Linked DNA regions of Homo sapiens: region 2 is linked to region 1. The links are contacts of gene promoters, found by promoter capture Hi-C in human tissues and cell types (Jung and others, 2019). All regions are on one chromosome and are shown on one strand. The core of a region is centred on a gene start or on the middle of the fragment in contact, and the rest is flanking DNA. Distances in the headings are between cores, read along the strand shown. Region 1 holds the start of TRAF3 (TNF receptor associated factor 3). Region 2 overlaps CDC42BPB (CDC42 binding protein kinase beta).

Evidence for each region. Contacts are between HindIII fragments. The study calls those that stand out against the background at their distance.
Region 2: a fragment that was not itself captured here is called in contact with the fragment with the promoter of TRAF3 in region 1 in 1 of the 25 tissues and cell types used here (small bowel).

The regions. Positions count from the first base shown.
Region 1 is chr14:102,774,477-102,779,307 of GRCh38, forward strand. It overlaps TRAF3 (TNF receptor associated factor 3), which reads left to right and starts at 2,973. Exons shown (of 12, transcript NM_145725.3): 1 at 2,973-3,199. RefSeq lists an enhancer at 1,546-1,785 and silencers at 2,496-2,555, 2,646-3,255, 3,466-3,515, 3,756-3,815. The HindIII fragment of the contact is 12,756 bases long and covers 1-4,831 here.
Region 2 is chr14:103,036,133-103,040,963 of GRCh38, forward strand. The region is part of intron 1 of CDC42BPB (CDC42 binding protein kinase beta); the gene reads right to left. Among named protein-coding and RNA genes, the nearest start is that of CDC42BPB, 19 kb to the right of the region's middle. The HindIII fragment of the contact is 7,768 bases long and covers 1-4,831 here.

The DNA.
Region 1 (4,831 bases), core at 1,723-4,222:
GAGTGAGAGAAGTTGCCAGCACCCTTCAGCCCAAGTTGACCCACAGGGGCCAGTGGTTTTTGTGTGGGAAGGCGCCACCTGAGGCACAGACCATCACATTCAGGGAGAGTTATAAGAAAACCCCTTTCCTAGCCCCAAAGCCCCTGGCACTCTGCCACGAATACCTTTTCCTTCTCACTGAAAGACAAACAGGATGGCCTTCTGAGCTGTTGCATGTCTGTGAGTCACTTGAGTATCTGCATGCACTTCTCCAAAAATGCAGCAAGCAGAACATGTAATGCTACATCAACTCCTGTGAGAAATGCGTCCAAAGATGGTGTCGGTTTGTTGTTGGACGTTGCCATAGGGAACAGAGATCTGCCTTTGAAGTACAGCGAGGAGAGAGCTCTCCTTCCTGCCCATCACTGCTGCCCTGTGGCTCTAACTGCAGGGGCGAGAACACCCGCCACCAACCCCCAAAGCAGTTGCCCTGCTTGGGGCAAACTTCTTTGTCCTGTCCCCCTTCAATTCCCCACAGCAGAGGATCTTCAGAACTGCTCAATTGGAGAAGAAAAAGGAGGAGGAGGGGAGGGAGAGAAAGGGAGGGAATAGGTCTCACCAGCAGAGGGCTCAGCCTGGTTGTGCCTGACTTCATTCTCAATGTTGCTTTCTAATGCTAGGCTGGAGCATGAAAAGAGCCGCAGAAAACCCTCTCATGGGTCTTTGGACCTTCTGCCTTGCTTCTTCTTTTCTTTTCTTTAATTATTTATTTATTTTTATTTTTTTGAGACAGGGTCTCGCTCTGTTGCCCAGACTGGAGTCCAGTGGTGCCATCATGGCTCACAGCAGCTTCAACCTCATGGACTCAAGCGATCCTCCCGCCTCAGCCTCCCAAAGTGCTGGGACCACAGGCATAAGCCACCATCCTACTTTTTTTTTTTTTTTCCAGACAGAGTCTCACTCTGTCGCCCAGATAGGAGTACAATGGCACAATCTCAGCTCACTGTAACCTCCGCCTCCTGGGTTCAAGTGATTCTCTTGCCTCAACCTCCTGGGTAGCTGGGATTACAGGCACACTCCACCACGCCCGGCTGATTTTTGTGTTTTTAGTAGAGACGTGGTTTCACCATGTTGGCCAGGCTGGTCTCGAACTCCTGACCTCAGGTGACTTGCCTGCCCGCGGCCTCCCAAAGTGCTGCAATTACAGGTGTGAGCCACCATGCCCGGTCCATGTCCTGCTTCTTTTAAAACAACCAAAAATAGTCCAGCCTAGGAAAGGGAGTCTTTCCTGATTTTGGCAAAGTTAAACCAGGCCATAGGTAACACACAGCATAAGGCAGGCGTTGGGAGTGGGCCCCAGTCGACAGGGTGCCAGGACTGTGGGCTAAGCAGGGCTGGGGACATGGGAGGCCTCAGTGCCTGGGCTATGGGAAGTGGTTGGGACCCTGAGCCTGAGGTCAGTAACATCCCAACTCCTGACAGGCAAGAAAGGGCACCTGAGGCTCCCAAGGGGAGTCCACCATGGGGGTGGGGGAGACCGCTGGAGTCCATAGGTCCCTGTGAGGGACGGCGAAGGCGGGCCTGTCACCTCTAAAAGAGCTGTGCCTGTGGCGCAGACGGGGGTGCCACTGTGGCCTGGTGAGTGTGGCTGTAGAACAAGCATCTGTTGGGCTAATGGAGCCAGAGACATGGTCCAATGTCTCTGATGTCCAGATAGACTTCCAGCAGCCAGGTCGGACTATCTGGGGTTCTGGAACGTTCCATGGGTGAAGCTGTAGGAGGAGATGCTGGACTTCCTGCCTCCACTCACATGAGTCACTGGAGCAATACAAGAAGGCAGACTGGCCTTGGCTACTCACACTGGTCTCAGCTCTGGGGTAGGGCTCTTTATAAGCCTTCTTGAGAAGTGAAAAATGCAAAGTCCTTTCTGTCCCCTCACCACTGACTTGCAAACTCCAGCGAAGGCCTCACCCCTCAGCTGGCCCAGAGCCTCCCAGAAGCCCTCCCTTCGCTTCCCACCTCGCCAGGCCCAGCCAGGCTGGGTGCTGCCTTGGTGGGCCTAGGTGAATCACTGACACACCACTGATGCCTTTGGGGCAGAAGGCAGAGGCCTCGGGAGAAATGCGCAGGCCCCAGCGGCCTGGTGGAGGGTGCAGGGGGCGCAGGGGCAGCCAGGACCGCCGAGGACGCTGGGGGCACGTGGCAAACTGGCTACCCTGTCCACCCGTGAGCAAGACACCACTCCGGGGGCGTGGGAGGGTCCAAGGGAGGGAGAAAGGAAAGTGCCACCAAACTAATGTGGAGCCCTGCCCTCTGCATGCGAAAAGGGGCTCCACGGCCTGAGTCACCCTCAGCCCCACCTGCGTGTGCGCGAGGGTGCGTGGCCTGGTACGCGTGCGCACGGTGTTGGTGAGCGTGTGTGTGCGTGTCCGCTTGAGGGGAATGTGACCGTCGTGTATGCGTCCGCGACAGTGCGGGGGGCCGCATATCGGACCCGTGCGTGTGCGTAGGGGTCGCGTGTGGCCATGGGCACACGGGCGTGCACGCACGGGGGCTGCGTATGCTATGCTGGCGTGGGGGGTGCGGGCGAGGTGGCCGCGGGGAGGAGCGGCGCCAGCACCTCTCGGCCCCCACGCGGCCTGCGTGGCTTTTTGACCCGGAAAGGCGGGGACGCGGGGACGCGCGGCGGCGGGGGCGCGGCGGGGGCGGCGCAGAGCGAGGAGGCCCGCGGGGCGCGCGGCGGGGACGGGAGGGAGGCGGGGGGCGCCCGGGGCCGTCCCCGCCCCGCGCCGCGGCGCCGCCGTTGCTAAGGCCGGGCGGGCGGCCGCCGGGCGCTAGGGCCCTTAGCAACGGGTCGCGGGCGCGCGCGGGGGGCCGGCGGGCGCGTGGGGCCGGCGGCGCTCGCGGGCTCCTGCCGCTCCCACGCGCGCGGGCGGCGGGGGCGGGGCGGCGGGCGCGCCGGGGATTTCCAGCGCGCGAGAGGAAGTGCCTGCGCGGGGCTGCGTGAGGGAGCGAGGGAGCGAGGGAGCGCGGCGCGGCCGCCGCGTGCGCGAGCCGGGGTTGCAGCCCAGCCGGGACTTTCCAGCCGGCGGCAGCCGCGGCGGCCGCCGGCTCTTCCCCGCCCCCCGCCATGGGGCAGCCCGGGGAGCAGAACGCTGCGGACCGCGGCGGAGGACGCGCCCGGCGCCCCTGAGCCGGCCGAGCGGCGACGGACCGCGAGGTAAGGGGCCGCGGCGGGCGGGCGGGCCTCCGGCGCGCGGCCGGGCGCCTCCATCCCCGTCGCCTCCATCCCGCGCCCTGGGCGGCGGGGCCCGGGGGCCTCGGGGCTGCCCGGCGCGGGCCCGGCGCGGCGCAGGCCCGGCCCGTCCCAGCGGCGACGGCGGGGCGCGGCTTCAGCCTGGCCCCGCGCCCCAGCCGGGCTGCCTCCCGCCTCCGGACGCCTCAACTTCGGCAAACTTTGTCCCGGAGGCCGGGCTCGGGGCCCGAGGGGGCCGGGGCGCCCGCACCTTTTCAGGAAACGGGGCGCGCAGGCCTCGCTACGGCCGTGACCCCCGCTGGCGTTGAGGACCCGGCACCCCGCGGGGCCGCGGGTTTCACGCGGGGGGACGGGCGGCTCAGGGGCTGCGTGGCCGAGCGCGCTGCCCGGGCCGGCCGGGGGGGCCCGGGCGTTATTGGAAAGTTGGTCCTGAGTCATTCCGCCTCAGAGGCGCCTCCGACCGCTTGGCGGGCGGCGCGGGGGTCCGGGTATGGGCAGAGGGCGCGAATCCCCCTCGCGCGGCCGCCGAGGGCCGGCGACTCCCGGGGCACCGGGCGGCTCCTGGCCGCGGGCTCTGCGTCTTCCCCGCGGGCGCCAGGCGGCTCTCGGCGGGCTGGCCGGTTCCACGCCGCCAGCCAGCCCCGTGTGGGGACTTCGGTCTAGTATTTGGACCCGAGGAGATAATTCTGTGTGGAAAATTCTCTCCCTTCGGTTGGAAACAGTAACAAACTGGAAACGGATGAGGTGTTATGGACGTGCTTGGAAATGCAAGAAACCTTCAGATTACGAGCTGTTGACGGGACCAGTTGTATTTCACGTTTTTCGAATTAAGCTCAGAATCAGTTTTCAGAATGACATGTGATGCGTGGTGCGTGGTGTGTGTGCCTGTGTGTGTGTATGGATATAATTCATTCATTTTTGTGGCGTCAGAAAGGTTATGTCGAGCGTTGTAGCGGCTTCTTAATTTACATTCACGGCATACAACTGAAGAGGAGCCATTATTTATTTTTTTTCCTAGCATTTGCTGCGACTACACACTGCCGGAGCGTTTGGAAATGTTGTTTGCTGTTACCCTGTATTTGTCTATAAAATTCTTACTGTAGGGAATGGCCAAGTGGACCATCAGTTCGTCCTGAGATCTTCTCATGTCTCTCACGTCTTTGAAAATGGCCTGTGAACAGACTGCATCATATGTAGGATGTCTGGCAAAATAGTGTACAGCGTTCTTTTCTCAAATGAGAGGAAATGTGTACCTTTTCGCCGCGTTGTGACAATGTAAATGTTAAGAATTAGTCTAAAGATGAAAATTCTTTGGCCAAAACAAGATAAGCCTTATCGATATGAAAACTGGAAAACATCACATGGGACTGGAAATCCTGTGAGTGGGTGCTCATGACGGAAACCCTGACAGACCTTGGATTCCAGCATCGCTGGTGAAAATCAGACCTTATCATGGATAAGGGTTAAGATGTAAGGTGTCTCACCCAGACGCCATCTGTTCCAGCTGTCAATGCAGAAGCCAGGAAAGGAGAGAGAGCTGGCCAGGGAGAATTCCAGCTTTTTTTTTTTTTTTTTTTTTTTTTTTTTGAGACATTC
Region 2 (4,831 bases), core at 687-3,186, 260 kb after region 1:
TAAAAATAAAATAAAATATTCTTTTTTTTTTTTTTTTTGAGTGGGAGTCTCGCTCTGTCGCCCAGGCTGGACTGCAGTGGCGCGATCTCAGCTCACTGCAAGCTCCCCCTCCTGGGTTCACACCATTCTCCTGTCTCAGCCTCCCGAGTAGCTGGGACTACAGGCACCCGCCACCACGCCCGGCTAATTTTTTTTTGTATTTTTAGTAGAGACGGGGTTTCACCATGTTAGCCAGGATGGTCTCGATCTCCTGACCTCGTGATCCACCTGCCTCGGCCTCCCAAAGTGCTGGGATTATAGGCGTGAGCCACCGCGCCCAGCCTAAAATATTCTTAAACACAAGACTGAAAGCTTCTTAATTTTTCCTAAAACTACAGTAATTCTGACGCCAAAATATTCCAAAGATAACATACAAAAGTTAAAACCACAGACTATCTACAGACTACTCCTCATTTGGAAATACAGATTTAAAAAAATAATAAAAAAAATGAATACGATAGGCTCAACTGTGCAGTTAGAGAATAAAATGCCACAGCTAAGCATGTTTTATTCTGGGAATGCACATATGATTCTATAGCATGTATATCAATACAGACAATAAAAAATAGCCAAACTAAAATCACAGTTCTGATACATGCAATAACCATATTTCAACATTAATTTCTCATTAAAAGTCGTGACTTTTTATTTTATTTATTTACTGAGATAATGTCTGGCTCTGTCGCCCAGGCTGCAGTACAGTGGCACAATCATGGTTCACTGCAGCCTCGACCTCCCAGGCTCAAGCAATTCTCCTGCCTCAGCCTCCTGAGTAGCTAGGACACAGGCCCACACCACCACGTCCAGCTAATTTTTGTGTTTTTTTTTGTAGAGACAGGGTTTCGCTATGCTGCCCAGGCTGGACTCAGGTATATCTGCCCACCTCTTATAGGCGTGAGCCACCACGTCTGGCCATCTCAGACTTTTAGACTTATCAAAATCAGCTTTTAATGTTTAAAACAATCTTTCAAATTAACATTCAATTTTAATGGAAAAAGACTAGAACATGCTTTAAAATAAAAAAGCAAGAAAGACAATTATAATAAACTCGGGGGAAGGAGACTTTCACTTTTCGTGGCATACCTACTTCTTGTACTGCTTAAATTTATTTTATCATGAGCACGCTTTTCTTTTTCTTTTTGACAGCGTCTCACTGTGTCACCCAGGCTGGAGTACAGTGGCACAATCATAGCTGACTGCAGCTTCGACCTCCCCAGGCTCAAGCAATCCTCCCATCTCAGCCTCCCGAGCAGCCGGGATTACAGGTGTGCACCACCATGCCCAGCTAATTTTTGTATAATTTGTAGAATCGGGGCCTTGCTATGTCGCTCAGGCTTATTTTCATAATTAAAAAAAATTAAAATAAAAATAGTACTTGCCAAATGTACCTTTTGTGATTGGTATTCTGATACTTTCAATACATGGTATGAGGGGCAATCCCAAATCACAGAAAACCGCAGCTCAGCTTACCTACAACTGCCCTCCAAGGACGGGCCCAAAGCTAAGGGCTTTGTAAAGCCCAAAGCTAAGGGAGGTGGCTCAAGAGATATGTGGAGAGGAGTTTTTAAAGAATTTTAGGCCGGGCGTGGTGGCTCACACCTGTAATCCCAGCACTTTGGGAGGCCGAGGCAGGTGGATCACAAGGTCAGGAGATCGAGACCATCCTGGCTAACACAGTGAAACGCGTCTCTACTAAAAATGCAAAAAATTAGCTGGGCGTGGTGGCGGGCGCCTATAGTCCCAGCTACTTGGGAGGCTGAGGCAGGAGAATGGTGTGAACCCGGGAGACGGAGCTTGCAGTGAGCCGAGATCATGCCACTGCCCTCCAGCCTGGGCAACAGAGCAAGACTCCGTCTCAAAAAAAAAAAAGAATTTTAAAAACTGGCTGGGTGCGGTGGCTCATGCCTGTAATCCCAGCACTTTGGGAGGCCGAGGTGGGTGGATCACGAGGTCGAGAGATCAAGACCATCCTGGTCAACATGGCGAAACCCCGTCTCTACTAAAAATACAAAAATTAGCTGGGCATGGTGGCACATGCCTGTAGTCCCAGCTACTCGGGAGGCTGAGGCAGGAGAATAGCGTGAACCTGGGAGGAGGCGGAGCTTGCAGTGAGCCGAGATCACACCACTGCACTCCAGCCTGGACAACAGAGCGAGCGAGACTCTGTCTCAAAAAAAAAAAAAAAACCAAAACAACTTCAGCACTCCTTAATAGCCCCAAAGCGGGCAACCCAGATGTCCATCAGGAGTGGACAAAGAGAGGGTTGTGAATACAGTGGACACTACACAATAACCACAAGGAACTAAGCTGCAGCTATACCCAATCATGTGGATGGATCTCAGTTACTCTTACTTACAATTACTTTTTATTTTTTGAGACACAGTATCACTCTGTTCCCAGGCTGGAGTGCAGCAGCATGAGCTCGGCTTACTGCAAACTCCACCTCCTGGGTTCAAGCAATCCTCCCACCTCAGCCTCCCGAGTAGCTGAGACTACAGGTGAGCACCACCATGCCCAGCTAATTTTTCTATTTTTTGTAGAGACGGGGGGGGGGGGCGGGTCTCATTATGTTGCCCAAGCTGGTCTCGAACTCCTGGACTCAAGTGATTCGCCCACCTCAGCCTCCCAAAGTACTGGGATTACAGGCTACAATTACCTTTTATTATGGTAAAATATACGTAACATAAAATGTACAATTTTAACCGTTTTTTGAGATTGACCAAGAAAAAAAACAGCAGCAACTCAAATTGCTAGGATGGAAATAAAAGAAGGGACACTACTGACATTAACAGAAGTAAAGAAGATTATTAAGAAAAACTATGAACAACTGTATGCCAACAAATTAGATAATCTAGGTGAAATGGACGAATTTATAAAAAGACACAAACTACCAAAATTGACTCTTGAAGAAAGAGAAAATGTTAATAGATCTACAACAGGCACAAAGATTGAACTAGTAATCAAAAAAATACCAAGAAAGCTATCCAGGCCTGGACAGCTTCACAGGTGCATCTACCAAACATTTAAATAAGAGTTATTACCAATTCTTCACACTCTTCCAGAAAAAGGAGAACACTTCCTAAATCATTCTATAAGGCCAGTATTATCTTGATACCAAACCAAAAAAAAAAAAAAAAAAAAGACATACAAGGAAAGAAAACTAGAATCAATTACCTTTATGAATAGATGCCAAAATCTTTAACAAAATACAATACTAGCAAACGAAATTCACAAACACAGAGAAAGAATTATATACCATGATCAAGTGGGATTCATCCCAGGAATGTGAGGTTGGTTCAACAAACAAAAACCAATTAATGCAATACACCATATCAACAGAAGAAAACGAGCCACACAACTATCTCAATGGATGCAGAAAAATCACGACAAAATCCAACACCCTTTCACATCAAAAACTTAACAAACTAGAAATAGAAGGAAACTTCCTCAACCTGAAAAGGGGCATTTATGAAAACCCGCAGCTAATGCCACACTTAATGGTGAAGGCTACACGCTTTCTCCCTAAGATCAGAAGAAAGACAAGAATGTCCCTAGTGCTGTTTCTACCCTACACTGTACTGAAGGTTCTAGGCAGGGCAAGTAGACAACAAAAAGAAATTAAAGGTATCCAAGTTGAAAAGGAAGAAGCAGAACTATCTGTACTCACAGAGATAATTTTATATATAAAATTTATATGATTTTTTATGTAAAAATTCTAATGAATTCACTAAAAAAACTACTAAAACTAATTAAAAAGTTCAGCAATTTTGCAGGATAAAAGATCAATATATAAAAATCAATTTACCTCAGGAATAAATTTAAGAAAGTAAGTGCAACTCTTACCCCTGCACTGTGAATTTAATTAATGCCACTGAATTGAACACGTAAAAATAGATAAAGTGGCCAGGCGCAGTGGCTCACGCCTGTAATCCCAACACTTTGGGAGGCCAAGGTGGGTGGATCGCCTGAGGTCAAGCGTTCGAGACCAGCCTGGCCAACATGGTGAAACCCTGTCTGTACTAAAAATACAAACATTAGCCAGGCGTCGTGGCGGGTGCCTGCAATCCCAGCTACTCGGGAGGCTGAGGCAGGAGAATCGCTTGGACCCGGGAGGCAGAGGTTGCAGTGAGCCAAGATTGTGCCACTGCACTCTAGCCTGGGCGACAGAGCAAGACTCCGTCTCAAAAAAAAAGTTAAAGCAGCAAACTTTATGTATTTTTACCCCAATTAAAAAGAAAACTAAACAACTCTCACTCTGAAAACTGAAACTTTTTTTCAATTAAATTTAAATTTATTTATTTATTTGAGATGGAGTCTCACTCTGAAGCCCAGGCTGGGGTGCAGTGGCGTGATCTCGACTCACTGCAACCTCTGCCTCCCGGGTTCAGGCGATTCTTTCACCTCAGCCTCCCGAGTAGGTGGGATTACAGGCGGCTGCCAACACACCCAGCTAATTTTTGTATTTTTGTAGAGACAGGGTTTCACCATGTTGGCCAGGCTGGTCTTGAACTCCTAACCTCAGGTGATCCGCCCACCTCGGCCTCCCAAAGTGTTGGGATTACAGGCGTGAGCCACCATAGCCATTCTTTATTTGAATTTTAAAAGTTCTAAATAAGTGGAAAGGCATCTTATGATCGTGGGACAAGAGACTTTAATACTGTTAAGATGGCAATACTCCCCAAATTGACCTACAGATTCAATGAAATCCTTGTAAGAATCCCAGCTGGCTTACTATTAGAAACTGACAAGCTGTTCCTAAAATGCATATGGAAACTCAAAGAACTTAGAAAGA